Linked DNA regions of Homo sapiens: regions 2 and 3 are each linked to region 1. The links are contacts of gene promoters, found by promoter capture Hi-C in blood cells and fetal thymus (Javierre and others, 2016). All regions are on one chromosome and are shown on one strand. The core of a region is centred on a gene start or on the middle of the fragment in contact, and the rest is flanking DNA. Distances in the headings are between cores, read along the strand shown. Region 1 holds the start of MDM1 (Mdm1 nuclear protein). Region 2 has its middle 2.9 kb from the start of LINC02384. Region 3 overlaps IL26 (interleukin 26).

Region 1 (4,775 bases), core at 1,299-3,798:
AACTCTGGCCCAGGACTCTGCCTTCCCTGGGACACAGGGAGGAGGCATGTGTGATAACAAGAACATGACCTCTGAAATTACATGCTTTGCACAAAACAGACTTGATTTCAAATCATGGTTCTGCCACTTACTAGCTGTAAAGCTGGGGCAGCGACCTCATCTCCCTAAGCTTCCATTTCTCAAGACCTTGGGAGCACTCTTCCCCAGCATTGTCCCCTCAGCTTTCAGGTCTCAGCTCAAATATCACCTCCTCAAAAAGAGCCTTTCCCAACCATCTAATCTAAAGCATTTTCCCTCCAATCCACTCCTCCCGCATGTTATGTATCACACTTCCCTACAATTTTATATAAAAACCTGAAATTCCCTTAATTATTGAGTGACTTGCTTACTGTTTCTCTCCACAGTTAAGGGACTTTGGTTCAGGGCTATATCCCTAGTGTTCCCAGACCAAACTGAGGGTCAGGCTGCTATTTCTCTCGGCCAATAACGAGATGCAGATAAACTAGGGAGAAAGAGAGTTTTTATTTCTATAACCAGTTACGGGAAGAAGGCCTGCAAATTATCACCAGACGAACCCCAAATTACAAAGTTTTTCAGAGCTTATATACCTTCTAAGCTATATGTCTACGTGTAAGTGTGCATTCATCTAAGGATATAAGTGATTAACTTCTTTTAATCTATAACTAAGGTCTGAGTCCTGAAGACCTTCTTCTGGAGCATCAGTAAATTTACTTAATCTAAATGGGTCTAGGTGCTGGGCTGATTACCCTTATCTTGTCTCCTGCTGAATCATGGAGGTTTGAGGAGTTCCTTCAGACCGCCAATAAATTTGTGGAGGCCTGGGGAGTTTCTTCAGACCCCCAGTAAAACTTGTTTAATCCTAAACGGATCCTGTTAAGAATTCCTTATTTTGTCATGCTTTATGGCCCAGGAAAGGCCTAGGCAATACTCTTGATGGGCTTTTGTGACATCCCAGCCTTTGTGTAAGGGCACTGGCTTTTTTTAGCTTTCAATATTTAACTTAACCGCTCAGTCAGTACCGAAACAGTTGTGATGGAGGCCTCCATTAGTGAAACCTGGCCTGCCACACTAGCTGCTGGGAATAGTCCTGGCTCATAGTAAACCTTCAATAAATACTTGATTAATAAATGAATAAATCAACCAGGCCAACTGAACTTTTAATATATCATTTGGTAAACTTAGCCCAAGGTTTACTTAGCCCAAGTTATAACGGCTTGGCCCAAGTTATAAACTTAGCCCAGGTTAGAATGGCTATTAGCCTGCTCAACTTACCTAATTGATCTGATCTAAGTCCAGCCCATGGGTACTTTCGCCCCACGGAGGAATTACAAGACTCGGACAAATAAGACTTTTTCCACAGGAAGTTCCTCTGGTATTCACTCAGCCCCTGTAATGCAAAGTACACTTTTGAGTACAGTCCAATTAATGAATGATGTTTTAAAGCAGACATCGGTGAAAAATAATTTCTGAACCTCCCAAAAGAGACTTAAGACTGAAAATTAAACACAGACGAGCTCCTTAATAAGAGCTAATATTCACCCAGCCCTGTGCTAAGCAGTTCACACGTGTTATATCCTTTAATCCACAACACCACTTGAGGCAGATGCTACCAGGAATTCCAGGCTCAGAGGTTACCCTTTCACTGATTATCTGATTCCAAAGCATGAGTTCTTGTCGGATAACTAATGACAATCTAAATTCTCATCATTCTAGATTTATCGCAGGTTTTCACCGAGTACACAATATTATGTACCATGCCTAGGACCTTTTGCTATTTGATAAAGTCAACAAAAGGCAAACTCCCCTTCCATTCTGAATACACGCCTTTAAGATAAATGAGTCAGGAGATGTGGGACGCTGTGGCCACCTGTGAAGTTGCAGGGTGCTAGTCCCTGACAGCTACCAGCTACCTGGAACTTTTAACATACGCTAAGAATGCACAACGATGAAAAACGTGTATTTCTTTATACGCTGTCTTTACTAAGAACCCATTTCTCAAGCCTTTAAAAGCCACATACACTAAAGTTTTAAAGGTAATGGGGGTTAAATGCTAAGCTAAATGGGCCACAGGTGTCCCAATCTGAAGTCGCCTTTAGTTCTCTTCGCAAAGGGACCTCCTCCCATCTCCACTCCTCTTGAGTCCCCCTAAGTAAATGTGTCTCGCACCATCTGACTCTTCGACACACTGCAGCTTGCAAATGTGAGTGAGCGGAGAGGGAACTAGGTTAAGAGGCGGCGGGCAGATTCTGGGGCCCCTCGAGCAGGCCCTGGGGCTGGCAGCTTCCGCCGGGCAGAGGGCTGCAGCGCAGAAAAGCAGCGTGACCTCGGCGCTCCACACCTCCCCGGCCATGGCTCCCCCCAGCCACATTCCGGCCCGGGGACCCCAGCCTCACCTTGAAGCGCACCGGCATGTCGCCCGGCGCCGGAGCCCCCGCTACTCCGACAGTTAACTGGAGAAAAAGCTCCGAGGGGGCGGGGCGATAACAGTGTTCCCTAGCAAAGCCTCGGCCCGGCGTCCCCGACTACGCGCCGGCGCACTCCGCGCTTCCCGCCTAGAGGCCTGTCGGTCTGTTTTTCCCCGCCCTTTTTGGAGCCTAGGGACCAATAGAGACTCGCAGAGTGCCTTACCTCCATTAGGATTTGACCAATGAGTGGCCGAAAGGGAGCCGCCTACCTCCCTTGCCAAATCCCTGGGGCTGATAGAGATGGCGGGCGGAAGGCCGGCCAATAAGGCTCCCGGAACCGGGCTGGGCGGGACCCCGGGGGTGCCTTCCTGGGTTGGGTGGACCGGTCCCTGGTTCGCCGGGTCCTGCGCAGCAATGCGTCTGCTTGCTGGTGGAATTCGCCAGCCGCCAGCCTCGCTGGCCCAGGTGCTTGACAGCATCAAAGGTCAAAGTGTGTTCTTCATGCTAACATCTATGAGAAAACCGAACGCTTCTTTTTCTGAAAGTGCTCAGATTTATTCTGCTGAATATCGGTTCGTACAAACGACAGCCGCATTACAGTTTATTGTCACATCAAAAGGGAAAGGCCAAAAAAATATATAACTTAGGCAAGATTTTTGAAACTTTATTGAAACTCGAAAGACAAACTGCTGTCTCTTCCTCCAGTGATGTTCTTCCTCCTTCAATCTCTACCTTCCCCAAAATGATGTACATACAGCCCTTAGATGAGAAAACGTTTATTGAAGATGGTTGTCTCAACTTCCAAACCTTCAGCCTTGTCTCTCCGCTCAACCTTTTTTTAAAAATAAAACTTCATCTGATTTTAATCGACTATTGCCATCATCGTCGATAAATGTTTCTTGACAGAATACTGCTGATTCTGAGAATTGGGAAAGAAAGAAATTGTCCAGATAGTTCTCTGATATACTTGGGAAGGACATACATCTTTATTTATTTATTTATTCATTATTTATTCAATAATGGTGTAATGTGACATGTGCTAAATTTCTAAATGAAAGGTGTCAATAATAAGGGCTACAGGATCTGGGAGCAGGGAGTCATTTCGGACGGCAGAAGATGCGTCAGGAGGAAATATTCAGACTGAAAGGACTGCAATAAGTAAAAAGTGGGACGATGAAAGGGCAGATGTCTGAATGGAATGCTGCCAGGCTTCTTCCAGGAACAACAAATGAGTGCCTTTTACATTTGTCATGTGTTGACTGAATAAAAGTATACCACTCTTAAACTTTCAAATATCAACACCAATCCTTGATGCTTCCCTTTAAGCATTTTCCGCAAAAGCTGTCTTCCTGAATCCTGATTGATGTCTTTGTTCTTCATCATCATCGAGATACTTAAAAATCATTTGAAGAAGCCACCTGATATCTGGAACAAAGAGCATATTAAATTAGTCCCAATGCAGCCATGCATCCAGGGGGCCCTTGATTAATGTTAATTGGTGATGACAGCATCTCTGTCGTGTAAATTAAGAATGGCACAAACAAGACACAGTGGAACATAGAACAAAAGTCATCTGCAGGAAGGCAGCCCATCTTACAGAGTAAGAAAGGCACAACTTTGGTTGTGCACACAGCTTTGTTACCACAAAATGCTAAGGTGAGATCAGCAAAAGCAAGTGTGTAGAATGTAGCCTGCCTGCTAAACAAGCGCAATGATCACTGCAGAAGAGCTCTGCTGAGCAGGGAGTAAATGACAGGAAAACCAAACAGCAGATTGTAAAAATAACTCAGTCACATCCCAGGCTTGCTAGAGAAGTATCATAAAGACTTAAGGAAGAAGATTTTACTTTGCTATTGTTAAACAAAAGCCTACCCAAGTTTAAGAGGCAAAGATATAGGAATGGGAAAAAAAAAAGTGACTACCTTAGTAAATGAGTTTTGTAGCCTGTGTTTTACCAGCTCTTATCTTCTCTGCTACTGCAGGAAACAGTACCCAGTACCCTACAAAGCTCCACCCATGTTTTGGGGAGTCCCTAGGAGGTATTTCACATGTGCTCGCAGCAACCACATAGCGTATGCCGGGCAGCACTGCCCCTTGTTCCAATAGCCATGCATCTGTAGGTGTCACTCTTGCTGCTGGCTATCACAGCCACTTTAGCTTGGTACTGAGTCTTCACTGGGCACAGCAACTGGGTACAGCCACTCCTCAAACTGCCTGGCATTGGTGGTAATCTATGGCAAAGCACCTCTCCTTTTTGCGTTACCCTCTTTGAAGTGAGTAACACTATGTCTTAGAGAGCCTTCTTTTCATTTGTGTTTTAGCCTTTCTCATCGCCAAAGGGCTCAAAAT
Region 2 (4,775 bases), core at 1,435-3,934, 120 kb after region 1:
GCCAAATGCAAAGCCAATTGCTTTGGCTTCCGTACAACACCATGCTGCAGCCAGGAAGTATTTTAAGTGGATAATGAGTAGTCTCTTCTCTCAATGAATACGTTCAAATAACATCGACTGCCTGTAATATGCAAAGTTCCTAGTCAAGGCTGCCTTAGGAATTCCTGCCCCTTAACTTAACGCTTTAATCTTTATCAGGGAAAATATCCCTCTTCTCTAGTGATGTTTAAGAAATCAATTCCCTGGCAATGGCCCAATACACTTTCCAGCTCATACACAGACATGTAAAACTGCACACACAGAGAAACACCCAAATGCACACCATTCGTACTAGTTCTGAGATATGCAAGGCTTACACCCTGCATCCAAGAATGGCTGCCAAGTTTTTCCTTTATTTAGTTATAATACCTCCTCTAAAATTATTTGGGGACCCAAAATGGCCTTTTTGTGTGAGGAAACACACATAAGAAATACCTCTCTGCCTTTTTCCCTTGAAAAATATAGTTATCTATGGAAAATCTGTGTGCTCTCTCTCTTTGTCTCTCAGATAAAAGTGGCAAAGCAGATGGAAGCTCCTTCTGTGAAGAAATCAAATTCTATACTCCTTATATCCAACCTCCATTACTCTATTTTTGTCATTTAAGTTATATAGTAGATATGTAATAAATGCTTCATTATTTCACTTATTAAGTTGGCTTCTCCCTCAAGGTACTTTAGAACTTTGGTACCCAACAGCAGCTCTGGGATCATGAGCTTATCAGAAATGCAGACACTCTGGTCCCATCCTAGCCCCCCCTCGAATCAGAATCTGCATTTTAACAAGATTTCTAGGAGATGTGTAAGCACATTAAGGTTTGAGAAGCACTGTTTTGGGACACACCTTGATTCTCTTTTTTTTTTTTTTTTTTTTAGTTTTGGTTTCTTTTTTTAGACTTAGGGAATACAAGTACAGTTTTGTTACATGGATATATTGTGTAGTGGTGAAGTCTGGGCTCTTTGTGTACCCATCACCCAAATACTGTACATTGCACCCAACAGGTAATTTCTCATCCCTCATCCCCACTCCCACCCCACCCTCTTATCTTTTGGAGTTTCCAATATCTATTATTCCACTCTGTATGTTCATTACACCTTGATTTTTACACTGTTACTGTTAGTCTAGTAAGTTCTCTCACTCCGCAAAGATCATGTCTTGCCATGGGGGACACTTTTCTAGAGGATAGTAATTATGAGCTGATGCTTTTGGGCACTAACCATGTGCCAGGAGTGGAGAGGGCACATAGTTAACATGAGAAAGATTTACTCAGTTAGTAAAAGGTGGAGGCAAGTTGGAACTCAATCTGGCATCTGGGTCCATGTTTTCCAGGTGCTGCTTCCCTTATTGGGCCCCTGCAGGGTGCAGAACGGTCCTACTTTCTGCAAGGTGTTTGACGTCCCTGTCTACCACACACTATAACTGCATGATACCTTCAGAATCCTGACAACCTAAGGACTGCCCCCACATTTCCAGACACCCATGTGAGTGGTGCTGATCACACTAAGAACCACAGTGTCTTGTGTTCATGCAGTAATTTTGAGAAATTAGTTTCCTGTGATTTGTTTCTTTCTTCCAGTGTTTAACCAAATAATAAAAATCCTTTAACGTTTTACATGTTATTTTTCACTTCAATAGAAGGCTATCACTATTGAGGGCCTGCTCTATGCAGACTAAAAGATAAGTAAGCTCCTTGCCTCTAGCCACTGACAATCTGGTTAGAGAAATAAGGCCTTAGTAGATGCAATAGCTAAGAAACAATTCAAGACACTATAAGATTAAGTCCAGAAATGACCAGAAAGACCTAGATTTATATTCTGGCTTTGTGCCACTTACTAGTGTGAGCCCAGTGACATTCTGTAAGCCTCTCTTTCCCTACCTGTAAAACGGGGGTATCATTAAACAATGCACATAAATTGCCACCACAGTATGTAAAGCATGAGATATACTTAATAAATGTTAGCCATATCCACCAATCACCACCCTCTCTGAATCAGGAAGAAATAGGACAAAAATGGGATACAGAGAGGATGTGCGTAAGAGAATAGACAGCATTCTGGGCAGGAGGCACAGCCAAGCAAAAGCGTGGTGTCAGGAATGTGCATGCCTGCGGCAGAAACTTACAGACTCTCAGACTGGATGAAGTGAAGGGTTCCAGTCAAGGAGTTATGAGAAGTGAACACATTAAAGTAAAGATAAGTTTACATTTGTTATGTGGACATGGAATCTCCTGGGGATTTTTGAATTTCTTCAGTATCACGACTTTCAAATACAGAAGAAATGCAAACCTACACAAAAGAAAATGAAGGAGTCTTCTAGCCATTCCCCCAGGGCTTCCCACACCAATGAGCGCGGATGCATCTATTACCAATCAATGTCTTTAAGAAGCCTGAAGAAATAAATGCATGGCACTGCTGTGGGACATATTTTTAATTCTTCTTTAAGTTCAAACCTGCCATCTAATTTATTTTCACTTTCAGTAAATGCCTTTTAAGCTTCTCAGACTTGAGCTAAGTCACATAGCTGATAAATAAATAGGATAAACCTACAGGAATATACTTGGTTCTTCAATCTTATGAAGTCTGAAAAATTGTATAAAGTCGACAACTTCAGCACTAATGGACCTAAAATGGCCAAGAAGCTATTGCTACTACTGTGTTACAATCGCTTTTGCTGGAGCATTCTTGTTTCTGCTGCTCATTAGGAAAAGTACTATCACACCCAGCAGAAAAGAATAATTGGCAAATCAACTAATTAAGGCAATATCGACACTCCTCTTGTCACCCAGTCACTTCTTTGTTGTAAATAAGCTTACTTGCTTACATTAAAGTCATTAGCTCTTCATATGTAAATAATAATGCACTTGAATTTAAACTGATTAGATATCTGAAAACAAACTTCAGTCCACTCTAATCTGGCCAGGATAGGGAAAACAAAGAGCATTATTGTCTTACTTAACCTGGTAAATTCAACACAACTGTATGAAGCTTCCGAATTCATTAATATCCAAATTCACCTTCCCTCCTGGACATTAGCCGGAATTCTATCTTTAGTTGTAAGACACACTATACTAAACAAATACTATAGTAATTAAAGAAACCACCCATTTCCTTCCCCCTAAGTTCCAGGAAGCCATGTTATTTCTGCAAACCAATTTCTATTTGCTGACTATTCTCCAGGGCTTTTAAAAGCAAATAAAATGTACCGGAAACTGTTTTCCAAATGACAACAAAGAATACATCTCCTACTCTCTCTTCTCCCCCAACAGGAAAAAACAAACAAACAAAAAAAGTGTGTGTTTGTGTGAATTTAAGGCATATACATTTAGGGTCTTGTTAAATCCTGAAAGATTGAAAGCCCCACAGTGTCCTGAAAGGAAATGTTTGAAGAAACTTCTCAAGTCTCTAAAGTTAGCTGGATCCTTTGCGACACTCACCTCTCATTTTGGCTCCTATAATTACCCCCTTTAACTTAATGCTGTTTATTTTTATATCTCTTCCCATCTTTCCTCATACCACTTTGTTTACAGCTGGTTAAAAAAAAAAGTTTATATTCACATATGTTCAATTCTGTCTTCATTTTCACTTCTCAGTTTCCCCTGCCCCATTTACCCTAGTGGGTTTGTTTGTTGGTTTTTTGTTTTAACTTCTTTATCATTGTCATTCTTCAGTCTAAACAGGATGAATTATTGATATAATCCCCAGCAAACAACTTCTTAACCACTTCCCACTCCTGAACCTTTAGTTTTTATTAAAGCACAAAGATTTATGTCAACCAAGAGTCCCATATAGTTCATTTCATCATGGGAGGAAGGGGGTTGGGAGAGGGGAGGAAATGAGACTTATTTTCATCCTGTTTGGATCCAAGACAAAGATCTTATGTCATCCAAAAGGGAGCCAAGACAAGACAGAGCCCCATGGTAATTGCCCACACTCTAACCTTTCTTGTCTCCCTTCTTGTCCCTCACAAATACCTCCCAGCAGGCCAGATTATTTTGTTAGAGAAGCTCCAAGCTGCCTACAACCCTGTAACAGGATAAAAGCTCTAGCAAGGTTTATGCAATGGACACTTATTTCCCTCACATCTCCCCTTCCTGCTCCTCAGATGATACCCTTCACTTCCTGTCCAGGTCAGGTTCCTGTACCGGAGGGCCACCCCAGGGTGCACTTCCTGCCTTCTAGCTGGTTTCATTGTCTGTGCCCTTAAAGCCCAGTCTTCCCCACGGGCTCCTGTGCTTTTCCACCCATCACATCATTCTGTTTACCTCTTGTTTGCTTTTTACTCCTTCCAAACTATCTCCTAGACCTGGAGTTCTCTCCCAGCTCTTTGCCTACATACCAATCTCAGCCTTTCTTAAAACCACGTTTCTCCCAGCAGTCACTCAGTAACTGCAGCCAATCAGGATTTTTGATATCCTGTCAACTTTGATTTGTTCTACCAACTTCATGGTGAAAATAACCACCACCTGCCGCATGATTCAGTCTTTTAAAGGCCTAGAACCACACACTTAACTAGGAATATTTGATATCTGAATTATGCTGTTTATCAAACCAAAGCCATGCTTTTGCTTTTGTGGGAGTTTTGTTTGTTTTACACTAAGCAAGACTATACCTACTGGCTACCTCCTCTGACCCCCTAGGTTAGATTACTTCCTACAGTTATTCTTTTACTCATAATCCACTTTACCTTTTGTTGTTGTATTTACGTATTTTGTTAGTGTACTGTGTGTAATAAATAGTTT
Region 3 (4,775 bases), core at 1,675-4,174, 110 kb before region 1:
TTCTTTATCCATTCAGCCACTCTGTCATTTAATTAGAAAATTTAGTCCACTTACATTCAATGTTATCATTGATAGGTAAAAACTTACTACTGACATTTTGTTACCTGTTTTATGTTTTTTTTTTTTTATTTCATTTTGTTTTTTTTAACTCCTCTCTTCCTTTCTACTGTCTTCTGTGGTTATTTTCTTTGGCAGTATGTTTTATTTTGTTGCTCTTAATTTTTAGTGCATTTATTATAGTTTTTGCTTTGTGGTTACCACGAGGCTTACAAAAAAACCTCTTATAAATATAACGAGTTATTTCAAACAGATGACAACTTATATTTGATCAAAATAAAAAGGGACTAGAAACAAACCAAGGAAAAACTTTTAAAAACTATACTTTAACTCCATCCCCCAACACACACACATTTTGACTTTTTGTTGAGGCAGGTATAGGTATCCTACCCAGGAGCTCAAGATGATGGGAAAGCTGATTGTCCACCTCAATCCCACGTTTTCCAGTGTAGTAATTGTGAGTTGGGAGAAAATTTTCCCTGTGCTTGGTGCCTGGCAGATTGGGGGAGGGGCATTGTGGATGTAAAATTCCAATTCTGTTACTATCTGCCCAAAATTTTTTCACTTCTCTGAGGCCTCAGGAACTGTCTTATCCTCATATATTAGCATTCTGGGATATTGCTGGTGATAATCATAGTGCTGTGTATTTGTTTTTGGTTTTCAGGATGCAGAAGAAGGGATAGTGAAGCCAGCTTGCTTTTTCTCCGTCATTTTTCATGCCTCACAATTTTGACAGAGAAATTATGTATCATTAACCAAGAAATGAATTTGTCAGCAAAACAATTCAATAACATAATTAGAAAATACCTTTACCAAAGTTAAAACCAATTACTCATAATTTATTTATCTTTTTTTCTTGAGACAGAATCTCCCTCTGTTGCTGAGGCTGGAGAGCAGTGGTGCAATCTTGACGCATTGCAATCTCAGCCTCCTGGGTTCAAGTAATCCTCGTGCCTCAGCCTCCTGAGTAGCTGGGATTATAGGCATGCACCCCATATCCAGATAACTTTTTATTTTTATTTTTATTTTTGTTTTTAGTAGAGACAGGGTTTCACTATGTTGGCCAGGCTGGTCTCAAACTTCTGGCCTCAAGTGATCTGCCCACCTCAGCCTCCCAAAGTGCTGGGATTACAGGCATGAGCCACCATGCTCAGCCTATTTATCTTTAAATTAAACTACTGCTGGCCAGGCGTGGTGGCTCACGCCTGTAATCCCAGCACTTTGGGAGGCTGAGGTGGATGGATCACAAGGTCAGAAGATCGAGACCATCCTGGCCAACATGGTGAAACCCCATCTCTACTAAAATACAAAAAATTAGCCAGGCATGCTGGCACACGCCTGTAGTCCCAACTACACAGGAGGCTGAGGCAGGGGAATCGCTTGAACCCAGGAGGTGGAGGTTGCAGTGAGCCAAGATTGCACCACTGCACTCCAGCCTGACAACACAGCAAGACTCCGTCTCATAAAAAAATAAATAAGCTACTACTATAAATTATACACATTATACAATATAATACTAATTTTAAGCACTAAAAAAGTATCTGATTACTTAAGAGAACCACTCCTTCGTAAATTGTTGAGAAAATGTAATTGGAATAAAAATTAATGTTCTGTGCATGAAAAGCAATAAAGGAAGCACTAACAATTCTGCAGAACTACTACATGCTAGGTACTTAATTCTCCCAACGACCTTAAGATGAGGCTACTGTTATTGAAGACACAGGTTTTAGACTTTGCAGCTGATAAAAGAATAAGACAGGATTGGTCTCACTCTTGCTTTATCAGTTCAACCAGTTGCAATTTTTACAATTTTAAATTACAGGGATGAATGAATGGTATTATTTTACAAGTTGATAAGCTATTTGCAATTGATGATACAAGTTACTTATTAAACAGTCTACAAAAAATGGAAACACAATATTCTGTTTGCCAATTTTTGCCAGACTTTAAAATTAATTACATGCAACCGACATGAAGAAATGTGTCTCTCTAAATACCAATTACTGTTCAGGCTCTCAAAATGTTAATTAAAGTAGACGATGAAATCTTAAAAACTAACAGAAATTATTTTCATTTCTATTTTGATCACTAGCAATTAGGTAAATTATTTTATGAATCCAATAAGGTGACTGCTAAATTCTCTTTCAAGTCTGAGAGTATTTGAGTTCTGTAAGAATCTCTAAAATGTCTTCTTACATAAACAATTTTCCAAATATTATGGCTAGGAAAGAGTATAAACATAAAGAAGTTTACATTACACATAACTTATTTTTTGAACAATTATACTATCTGACTTACCCAAATCAAACTAATTGGAAAATATATTTTATTAGGTGCTGCAAAATGCTTAGAATGTCACCAGAAGCAATGAGAGGATGTCCAAATACAGTGGTACTGGGAATTCCAGTCCTTGGAGTCTATCATGATAATTTGTCATGCTGTTTTATCTTAAGAGTGGCTCAAGAAAACGGACTTGCAAGGAAGCCCAAAAGGCAGGTACCTTAGAGAAATCAGATAAGCTTCACAAAAATAAGAAATAATTTCATGAGTTAATAATGAAACAGAGAAAATGACAACAAAATTAATAATTCATTGGTCATTATGGGAGAAAATCAGAAAACCAACCACTTATGTTGAAAGCTAGCAAATAAAGGAAGATAATTAAGTATTTAACCTGGCTTTCTTATATGATAAGTTCCTCAGAACATCCAAATAGGAGTAGATTCTATTTATTGAATTATCCCAGCTTATGAGTAAAGAAGATAAAATAGAATTTAAAAATTATTATTTTGTAGTGCCTTATGAATTAACGGATCTAGACAATAATTGTCAGGGGTTGTTATCATCGTAAAAATAAAGATCATACATCATGTGACCCAGTGAAAGCAAACAATGCTACCTATAAAGTGTTCTAGCTAAAACATCAAGCTAAATCTGATCAAGTCTCTCTGTATAATTGTTAATGTATGGTAAATAAAGAGGAGAATATATTAAATGACACTATGAAAATGCAGTCAGAAAATACAGACTATGAGAAACTCTGTGAGACAAATGGCCGAATGTCCTGAACAAATACATTTCAAAAAGGAGGAAGAGAAGGAAAAGAAGAAAGGAAAGCAAAATCATAGGAAATATGGTAGAGTTTACAGAAATGTGTTGCTTCAATGAGTGGCAAAAACAGCACTAGACTAAACAATACTTTGGTCCTGCCTAACAAAGCTTAAACAACAAGATCTGAAAAGATCAAACTGTTTGCAACTAATTTAACTGTGTCCCAGAAGAAAACTCAAGAATATTTACAGAAATATAAAAATGTCTAGGATCCAACAAGGTAAAATTCATAATATTTGACATTTGATCAAAATTACCAGCCGTGCAAAGATGCTGTAAAATATGACCCATAACGAGGGAAAAAAATCAATCAATTGAAACCAACCCAGAGTGGACACAAATGTTACAATTAATCAATAAGGATATTTTAAAAGTTGCTATAACTCTATTCCATATGTTCTAGAAGTTAGAGAAAGACTGATCATGTTCAATAGAGCAATGGAAAATATTAAAAAGACTCAATTCAAACTTCTAGAGATAAAAACTACAATGTATGAGGTGAAAAATATTCTGAATGGGACTAACAGATAGGCACTACAAAAGAAACGATTAGTGATCTTGAAGATGTAGCAATAGAAACTATTCACAATGAAACACAGAAAAGACTGGGAAAAAACAACCCACAGAATCAGTGAGCTGTGGGACAACTACAAATGGGCTAATATATGTGTAATTAGCATTCCAAGAGGAGAAGAGACAGAAGGAGATACAGAAAAAAGTTTTTGAATAAATAATGCTGAACAATTTCAAATTTGATGAAAACTATATACTCACAAATACAAGATTCCCAATCAACTCCAAGCACAAGAAGCCTGAAGAAAACTACATCAATTCACATCATAATCAAATTGCTTAAAACAAGTAATAATGAGAAAAATAAAAGGCACGAATATGTTATGAGTAAAAGGATGGAAAAAGACATAGCACACTAACATCAATCAAAAGAAAGCTGGAGTGATTCTATTAGCATCAAAAAAGAAGTGGATTTCAGGACAAAGAATATTATTAGGGACAATAAGGGTAATTTTATAATGATAAATGTGTCAATTCATCAAGAGAATATAACAATCATAAACATTTCTGTACCTAATAACAGAAATTCAAAATACATGAAGCAATATCTGATAGAACTTCAAGAAGCAACAGAAGTTCACAATTAATGTCAGAGATACCAATAATTGATAAAACAAGTAGAAAAAAGTTAATAAAGAGAGAGAAAAAGTAAAAAGCTGTCACAACTAAATCTAATTGAAATGTATAAAATACTCAGCCCAACAATGGCAGAATACATATTCTTTTCAAATATACATAGAACATTTACCAAAATAGACCAAATTCTGGGTTATGAAACATGGATCAGCAAATATAAAGGGATTCAAGTCATACAAAGTATGGTCTCTGGCCAAAATGATATCAAATTAGAAATCAAAATTAGAAAAGTATCTAGAAAAATTCCCACATATAAAAACTAAATAACACTCTTCTAATAACCCATATATAAAAGAAAAAATAAAAAGGGAAATTAGCAAGTAATTTAAAGCAAATAAACATGAAAGCACAACATAGCAAAGATTGTGAAATGTAACTAAAGAAGTACTTAGAGGGAA

The links. The method cuts DNA at HindIII sites, captures the fragments that hold promoters and counts their contacts. A CHiCAGO score of 5 or more calls a contact.
Region 2: a fragment that was not itself captured here is called in contact with the fragment with the promoter of MDM1 in region 1 in 1 of 17 cell types (megakaryocytes); the score reaches 5.5 in megakaryocytes.
Region 3: a contact is called between a fragment that was not itself captured here and the fragment with the promoter of MDM1 in region 1, in 1 of 17 cell types (activated CD4 T cells). The highest score is 5.7, in activated CD4 T cells.

What each region holds. Positions count from the first base shown.
Region 1 is chr12:68,329,814-68,334,588 of GRCh38, forward strand. MDM1 (Mdm1 nuclear protein) reads right to left here and starts at 2,549. Exons shown (of 15, transcript NM_001354969.2): 1 at 2,415-2,549; 2 at 1,294-1,408. The coding sequence starts at 2,432. It overlaps LOC105369819 (a long non-coding RNA gene), which reads left to right and starts at 2,818. Exons shown (of 3, transcript XR_945057.3): 1 at 2,818-4,775. RefSeq lists an enhancer at 2,100-2,189 and a silencer at 2,490-2,749. The HindIII fragment of the contact is 10,890 bases long and covers 168-4,775 here.
Region 2 is chr12:68,451,975-68,456,749 of GRCh38, forward strand. No RefSeq gene overlaps it. Among named protein-coding and RNA genes, the nearest start is that of LINC02384, 2.9 kb to the left of the region's middle. The HindIII fragment of the contact is 315 bases long and covers 2,528-2,842 here.
Region 3 is chr12:68,214,771-68,219,545 of GRCh38, forward strand. The region is part of intron 3 of IL26 (interleukin 26); the gene reads right to left. Among named protein-coding and RNA genes, the nearest start is that of IL26, 8.7 kb to the right of the region's middle. The HindIII fragment of the contact is 700 bases long and covers 2,575-3,274 here.